2 separate regions of the Homo sapiens genome follow, and region 2 is linked to region 1. Evidence: promoter capture Hi-C in human tissues and cell types (Jung and others, 2019). All regions are on one chromosome and are shown on one strand. The core of a region is centred on a gene start or on the middle of the fragment in contact, and the rest is flanking DNA. Distances in the headings are between cores, read along the strand shown.

What was found. The method cuts DNA at HindIII sites, captures the fragments that hold promoters and counts their contacts. A contact is called where the count stands out against the background at its distance.
Region 2: the fragment with the promoter of PRSS57 here is called in contact with the fragment with the promoter of MISP in region 1 in 1 of the 25 tissues and cell types used here (dorsolateral prefrontal cortex).

Annotation. Positions count from the first base shown.
Region 1 is chr19:749,192-752,930 of GRCh38, forward strand. It overlaps MISP (mitotic spindle positioning), which reads left to right and starts at 1,921. Exons shown (of 5, transcript NM_173481.4): 1 at 1,921-1,980. The HindIII fragment of the contact is 28,409 bases long and covers 1-3,739 here.
Region 2 is chr19:693,459-697,197 of GRCh38, forward strand. PRSS57 (serine protease 57) reads right to left here and starts at 1,994. Exons shown (of 5, transcript NM_001308209.2): 1 at 1,894-1,994; 2 at 1,356-1,509. The coding sequence starts at 1,972. The HindIII fragment of the contact is 19,970 bases long and covers 1-3,739 here.

The DNA of each region.
Region 1 (3,739 bases), core at 671-3,170:
GGCGTGGGACGTCTCCACAGTGCCCCCAGCTCATGGGCGATCCAGCCTCCACCCTGCTGGGGCCTCAGTTTTCCCCGATGAGGTGGTGAGTGTGGTGGAGAGCACTGCTGAGGGAACTCAGGTTCCAATTCCAGCCTAAACCCCCGCCATTCCTGAGGCGCGATTTTAAGCTTTCCGTACCTCCGTTTCCCTATCTACAAGCCAGGGAGAAAAGGACGTGAAGGGGGTGGCGGGAGGCGGCGGTGGGAGGCGCCGTGAGGCCGCGCACCCTGAGCTTTCACACACCCAGCAGCGTTAGGTGCCACGCTGTCCTTTGGGGGCCCTTTATCCAGATTTGTCCTTAAACACCCCCATCTTGGCCAGGCGCCGTGGCTCGCGCCTGTAATCCCAGCACTTTGGGAGGCTGAGGCGGGGGCATCACCTGAGGTCAGGAGTTCGAGACCAGCCTGGCTAACGTGGCAAAACCCTGTCTCTACTAAAAATACAAAAATAGCTGGGCGTGGTGGCTCATGCCAGTAATCCCAGCTACTAGGGAAGCTGAGGCAGGAGAATTGCTTGAACAGGGGAGGTTGCCGTGAGCCGAGATCGTGCCACTGCACTCCAGCCTGGGTGACAAGAGCGAGACTCCGTCTCAAAAAAAAAACACAAAAAAAGCACCCCCCTCCTGAGCAGCCCTGCTGGATTCGTAGCTGGGGGCCTTTTTACTCGAAGAAGAGACTGAGGTTCAGAGGGGCTCCACAAGCAGCCCCTCTGGCGTAGGTCAGGACAGAGCCCCAGCCTGGGGAACTGAAGTCCCTGCCCCCTCAGCTGTGTTCCCTGCCCTCATAGACGGCGCTAGGCCCAGTGGCCCGACTTCCCCACAGATGCTGGGCTCCCCACAGTCCCAGCAAGGCCTCTGCACCTTGACTAAGAATCCAGGAGGACCATGGGCGCCTGAGGGCCTCTGCGTCCCCATCTCTCGGGGTGGCCTGGGTCTTTTGACGGCCTCGTGCGGTTCTTTTTTTTTTTTTTTTTTTTTTTTTTTTGAGTTGGAGTTTTGCTCTTGTCGCCCAGGCTGGAGTGCAGTGGTGTGATCTCGGCTCACTGCAACCTCCAACTCCTGGGTTCAAGTGATTCTTCTGCCTCAGCCTCCCAAGTAGCTGGGATTATAATAGCGTGCCACCATACCCCGCTAAATTTTGTATTTTTAGTAGAGACGGGGTTTCGCCATGTTGGCCAGGCTGGTCTCGAACTCCTGGCCTCAAGTGATCCGCCCGCCTCGGCCTCCCAAAGTGCTGGGATTACAGGTGTGAGCCACCAAGTCCGGCCCCCTCGTATGGGTTTTTATGTGGATGGGGCCTAGGGAATTCCTCCCAGCAGCCCTGAGGGAGCCCGGGCGTGATGTTCCCCCACGTCCCGGAGGAGAAAACAGGGCTAAGAGAGGTCAGGTGGGATCAGAACCCAGGCCACACCAAACCCCCCCGAGTCTGCCAAACCTGGTTTATGCAAGAAGGGGGCCATCTAGGGGAGTTGCCCCAAGGGGTGGGCTGGGCCAGAAGGCACGGACGGGATTGGGACTCAGCCCCTCCGGCCCCCCAGGAGACACAGGCCACTGTGCACGCTGAGCTGCTGTGTGGCCCTGGACACCTGCTGACCCTCTCTGAGCGGTGCTGAGAGGCGGTGGGAGGGCCAGGCAGCCAAGGGAGGTTTCGGCTGAGTTCTGGCTCCTCGGGGCCACCTGGAGGCCCTGGGGGTGGAGGGGCAGCCGGCAGCGGGCACGGTGCCCGCCCTTGCCCAGCCTGGTATCCTCTTTCTCCCTCCTCCTCCTCTGGACTTTGTTTCCTGATCCCAGGTGGGGCTGGGGGGAGGGGGCACACCTGCCTCCCCTGGGTGGGGCCTCTGTTCCCTGGCAACCTGGCGGGCAGGGCGGAGCTGGGAGGCCTCTGTGCCCATCGAGGAGTCAGAGTGGAGGCTGCAGACTGTGGAGCCGGGAGCCGGCAGGTGAGGCTGGGGGCGCCCCGGGCCGGGCCGGGCGGGGATCCTGTGTGGGGCGGTTGGATCCACATTTGGCGTGGGAGCGTCATGTGTCTGTGGGCGGGGTCTGCTTGCCTGGCGGCACTTGGGATCCAGGGAGGCCCCCTGCCCCACCCCGTCACCCTCGGAGCCTCCCTGAGGCACCTTTCCCTCTGCCCCCGCTAGGTACTCTGGGGCCTCAAGGGCACCCACTGGGAGAGCAGAGAGGCCCTTGTCCCTGAACTCTGCTGGGGCTTTTGAACCCCAAATCCCAGAGCCCTCCAAGGGAGGGGCCGGGTTGGCACCCCCATGGTCAGAGGCCAGAGGGGCCCCTCCATGGTTCTGGGAATTCCAGAGGCTTCTGGAGAGATGCTTATCCGTCCCACCAGGCCCCTGACTGGGAGGCTCTGGGCAGTAAACACCCCCGTGGGGCTGGGGGCTGGTTTGGGGACACGGAGGAGGGGTGGCTGAGTACAGGCGGAAGGAGTCTCAGGCCGGGGCTGGGGACTTGGCCTGGGTCCTCGGGTGGGGGTGAGGTGGTAGCCTGGGATCCCGGGCAGCCAGCAGGGACTCGGCCCAGCGTCTGCCGGTGGAGCTCCGCCCAGGAGCCCAAGGAGCTGAGATGACTCAAGGGTGACTGCAACCCTGAGGGATGGGAAAAAGGAACGGGGCCCTCCCTTCTGCATGGCCTCCTTGTCTGAGTCTCGGCCCCACAAGGGAACCTTTGCCCCTCACATAGAGCCAACTGGCTGATGAGGAAGGAGGTGTGGCACCAGGGTCCATAAACCCAGTTTCATTCTGGTATCAACAGAGTTCAGGGTGAGGCTGGGAGGAGCAACCCAGGGGGCTTCCTGTAGGAGGGGGTGATTTGGAGCAAAGTCTGAAAACTGGCTTCAGACACTTGCTCTGTCATCGCTGTGTGACCTCAGATGAGCAGGTTCTCCTCTCTGGGTCCCAGCTCCCTCTCTCGAAAACCGGAGTCGAAAACGGTTCCAAGGTGTTGCAGGAAGAGTCTCAGGACGCCGAGGTCCTTAGCCACCGCCGGGCCTTGCAGGGGCCATCTTCCGTCCTGGGGCTCTTCCCCCGAGGGCAGCGCCGCTGCCCAAGAATGCCGGCCATGAGAGCCGCCGTGGATCCAGGGGTTTTTTTGGCCGACACAGTGAAACCCCATCTCTACTAAAAATACAAAACTTAGCCGGGCGTGGTGGCGGGCGCCTGTAGTCCCAGCTACTTGGGAGGCTGAGGCAGGAGAATGGTGTGAATCCGGGAGGCAGAGGTTGCAGTGAATGGAGATCGCGCCACTGCACTCCAGCCTGGGCGACAGAGGGAGACTCTATCTCAAAAAAAAAAGCGGGGGGCGGGGGTGGGCACTGAGGCACAGGCAGCAGGGGAGGGGGCCCAGTGGCCTTGAACCCAAGAGCTGGACCCCAGGCCCCACCCGCTGGCTTCAGTGAATCACTGGGGAGGAATGAGCAGAGGAGGATGCGTGCCTTCATCCCCACCCAACCCCGACCCCACTGGGAGACCCGGCACCTGCTCGAGGCTGGGCGGACAGCTCCCTTTCTCCCGGAGTTGACGTCTGATGTGGGTTATAAATCCCGCTGTGTAAACGTCTGTCCACTCACTGGGCAAACATTCCTACACCCGCCCTCCCCGGGGAGCTCCAGGGTGCAGGGCGTGGACCTGCCCAGCCCTTCAGGGCCAGAAGGCACGGTGGAGCCGGTCTGCATTCCGCAATGAGCCCGAC
Region 2 (3,739 bases), core at 744-3,243, 56 kb before region 1:
CATCTATGAAATGGAGGCCCAGTAATCCATTTAATGCTCACGCCGGCCCCGTGATAATATTAGGTTGGTGCAAAAGTAATTGCACGAAAAAAATTAAATGGCAAAAACCACAATTAACTTTTTTTTTTCCGACAGAATCTCACTCTTTCCCCTAGGCTGGAGTGCAGTGGTGCCATCTCGGCTCACTGCCACCTCCACCTCCTGGGTTCAAGTGATTCTCCTACCTCAGCCTCCCGAGTAGCTGGGGATACGTACAGCCACTTGCTACCATGCCCAACTAATTTTCGTATTTTTTTTTTGAGACAGAGTCTCGCTCTGTCCCCCAGGCTGGAGTGCAGTGGCGCGATCTCGGCTCACTGAAAGCGCCGCCTCCCGGGTTCACGCCATTCTCCTGCCTCAGCCTCCTGGGTAGCTGGGACTACAGGCGCCTGCCACCACATCCGGCTAATTTTTTTGTATTTTTAGTAGAGATGGGGTTTCACTGTATTAGCCAGGATGGTCTCGATCTCCTGACCTCGTGATCCTCCTGCCTCGGCCTCCCAAAGTGCTGGGATTACAGGCATGAGCCACCGCACCCAGCCTAATTTTCGTATTTTTAGTAGAGACAGAGTTTCACCATGTTGGCCAGGCTGGTCTCATACTCCTGACCTCAAACAATCCACCGTGTCCCAACGTGAGGGGGACTGCAGGCTGGCGGGGGAGCTGGGGACACTGCAGCCCAGGACCAACCTATCCCGTGCCTGGTGGGGGCTCCTGCAGGAGGGGACCCACCCACCCTGGCCCCAATATACATTTTAATAGTTATTATAACAATATGTTTAAAACGAGGCAGGGCATGGCGGCTCACACCTGCAATCCCAGCACTTTGGGAGGCAGAGGCGGGTGGATCATTTGAAGTCAGGAGTTCGAGACCAGCCTGGCCAACATGGTGAAATCCAGTCTCTACTAAAAATGCAAAAATTAGCCAGGTGTGGTGGTGGGCGCCTGTGATCCCAGCTACTCGGGAAGCTGAGGCAGGAGAATCGCTTGAGCCCGGGAGGTGGAGGTTGCAGTGAGCCGAGATTGCACCGTTGCACTCCAGCCTGGGGAACCGAGACTGCCTCAAAAAAAAAAAAGAACATAGTGACAGTTACAGTAACAGAATATGTACTTGTTGCGCCTGTTGCTTCTTCTGTGCTTCTTTTGCCTCCCTGCCTTATCCTCCTGTTTTCCCTTTGTTGCCCTTTAAATCCAGCCCCTGCTGAGACTCCCCCTCCTGCAGGAGCCACGGCGCCCCCAGCTCCCCCACCAGCCTGGAGTCCCCCTCATGTCGGGATACGGTGTCCAGAAAGAAGGGGCCCGACAGGTGAGCTCACCTGTGGCTGAAGCAGTGGGCGGCCGAGACCACCCAGCGGGCTCGCAGCAGGAAGCCTCCGCAGTGATGTTGGCCCCCGAAGCGCACGGATGCCATGTAGGGCCTGGAGTGGGGGGTCACCTCGTGGCCCCCGATGATCTGGGCCCCCCAGGAGCCTGCTGGAGGGACGGCCTGAGTCAGGGACGAGGCGGGAGGAACGGATGACGGGGCTGGGGTCAGGGCAGGGGGAGAAGTAGCGGCCAAGACAGAGACAGGGGGTGAGATTAGAGACGGAGAGACCCAGAGAGCTGGAGACAGAGCCCAGACAAGCCCCCCAGATGCGCTGGGAGGGGCTCCCGAGCCCGGGAGATCCAGGGCTGGGCTGGGCAGAGACCCCGGCCGGATTTCCATCCATTTCCAGCAGAGGCAGCCACGGGGGCTCGGCAGATGGAGCAGGTGGAGCTCTCCCCAGGGTTCTCCCGGGACTGGGGGTTCCCGGGTGTGGCCCCCGTACGGGGACTTGGCGGGGGCCTGGGTGGGGATCCCGGGGGGCTCCTCACCGGGGGGCTTCACGGGCAGCATCAGGGCGGTGGCCACAGTCAGCAGAGGACGTCCCCAGCCCCTCAACCCGAGCCCCATGGCAGACGCAGGCTGGCGTCTCCCCGCAGAGGTCTTCGGGCCGTGGCTCCCACCCTCAGCCAACGGCCGGAAAGGGGGAGCCTGGCTGTGGCCTGTGGTCGGGAGGCCCCACCAGCAACGCCTGGAGCCCAGGCGGGCGTTTCTGAGAAATCGATGGTCTCAGGTGGTGGCTGGTAATAATCATGTTGATAATAATCATTGTCCCCTAGTCCGGAAACAGGGAGAGGAGGAGACAGCTCTGGGGCTGCAAGTGACCTCGGGAAGGCAATTGACCCTTCTGTGCCTCAGTTTACCCAGCCTCCACGTGGCCCAGCATGTGTGGGGAGCTTTCCGAGGAACCGAGGTCACAGCGGCACTCGAGACCCGCAGCTCGCCTCCGGCCCCCACCCCGCAAACCCCAGTCTTCCCATCTCCAAACCCAGGGCCGACCTCAGGGCTGTGGGGACAGCGAGGAAGGCCGGTCTCCTGGGAAGCTCTGATGATTTCTGCCTTTATTTTATTTTATTTTTATAGGTGGGGTTTTGCTATGTTGCCCAGGCTGGTCTCGAACTCCTGGGCTCCAGCGATCCTCCCTCCTCGGCCTTCCAAAGTGCTGAGATCACAGAAGACAGCCACTGCACCTGGCAGATTTCTGCCTTTATTCAGCAGTTATTGAGTGCCTAGTGTATACCAGACCTCATGCTAGGAGGTGAGGATGAGGCAGTGACCGCACCCCAGCCTGTAGCACTGACGTTCTGTGGGATCCGGAGTCCAGTGGGACATGGCTGTACATGGGGGTCTTCACCTTTTTTTTCTTTTCTTTTTTTTTTTGAGATGGAGTCTTGCTCTTGTTGCCCAGGCTAGAGTGGAATGGCACCATCTCGGCTCACCGCAACCTCTACCTCCCGGGTTCGAGTGATTCTCGTTCCTCAGCCTCCCGAGTAACTGGAACTACAGGCGCCCGCCACCACAGCCGGCTAATTTTGTTTCTGTATTTTTAGTAGAGACGGGGTTTCACCATATTAGCCAGGATGGTCTCGATCTCCTGACCTCATGATCCGCCCGCCTCGGCCTCCCAAAGTGCTGGGATTACAGGCATGAGCCACGGTGCCCGGCCTTTTTTTTTTTTTTTTTTTTTTTGAGAAGGAATCTTGCTCTTGTTGCCCAGGCTAGAGTGCAGTGGCGCGATCTTGGCTCACCGCAACCTCTGTCTCCTGAGTTCAAGGGATTCTCCTTCCTCAGCCTCCTGAGTAACTGGGATTACAGGTGCCCACCACCACGCCCCGCTAAATTTGTGTGTTTAGTAGAGACGGAGTTTCTCCATGTTGGTCAGGCTGGTCTCGAACTCCCGACCTCAGGTGATCCACCTGCCTCAGCCTCCCAAAGTGCTGGGATGACAGGCCTGAGCCACCGCGCCCAGCCCGGCAGGTCTTCACCTTTCAGTGGGAGCGTTCTTAGTGGCAAAGTTCAGGTCGTAAATTGCAGCTCACACAGCCGGGTGATGGCGTTCACGGCAGTGGCTAGCAGTGGGGTGCTCGTCAGCGCTTAATAATGAACAGGCTGGGGCCGGGTGCAGTGGCTCACGCCTATAATCCTAGCACTTTGGGAGGCCGAGGCAGGTGGATCACCTGAGGTCAGGAGTTCAAGACCAGCCTGGCCAACATAGTGAAACCCCGTCTCTACTTAAAGTACCAAAATTAGTCAGGCGTGGTGGCAGGTGCCTGTAATCCCAGCTACTTGGGAGGCTGAGGCAGGAGAATCGCTTGAACCGGGAGGTGGAGGTGGCAG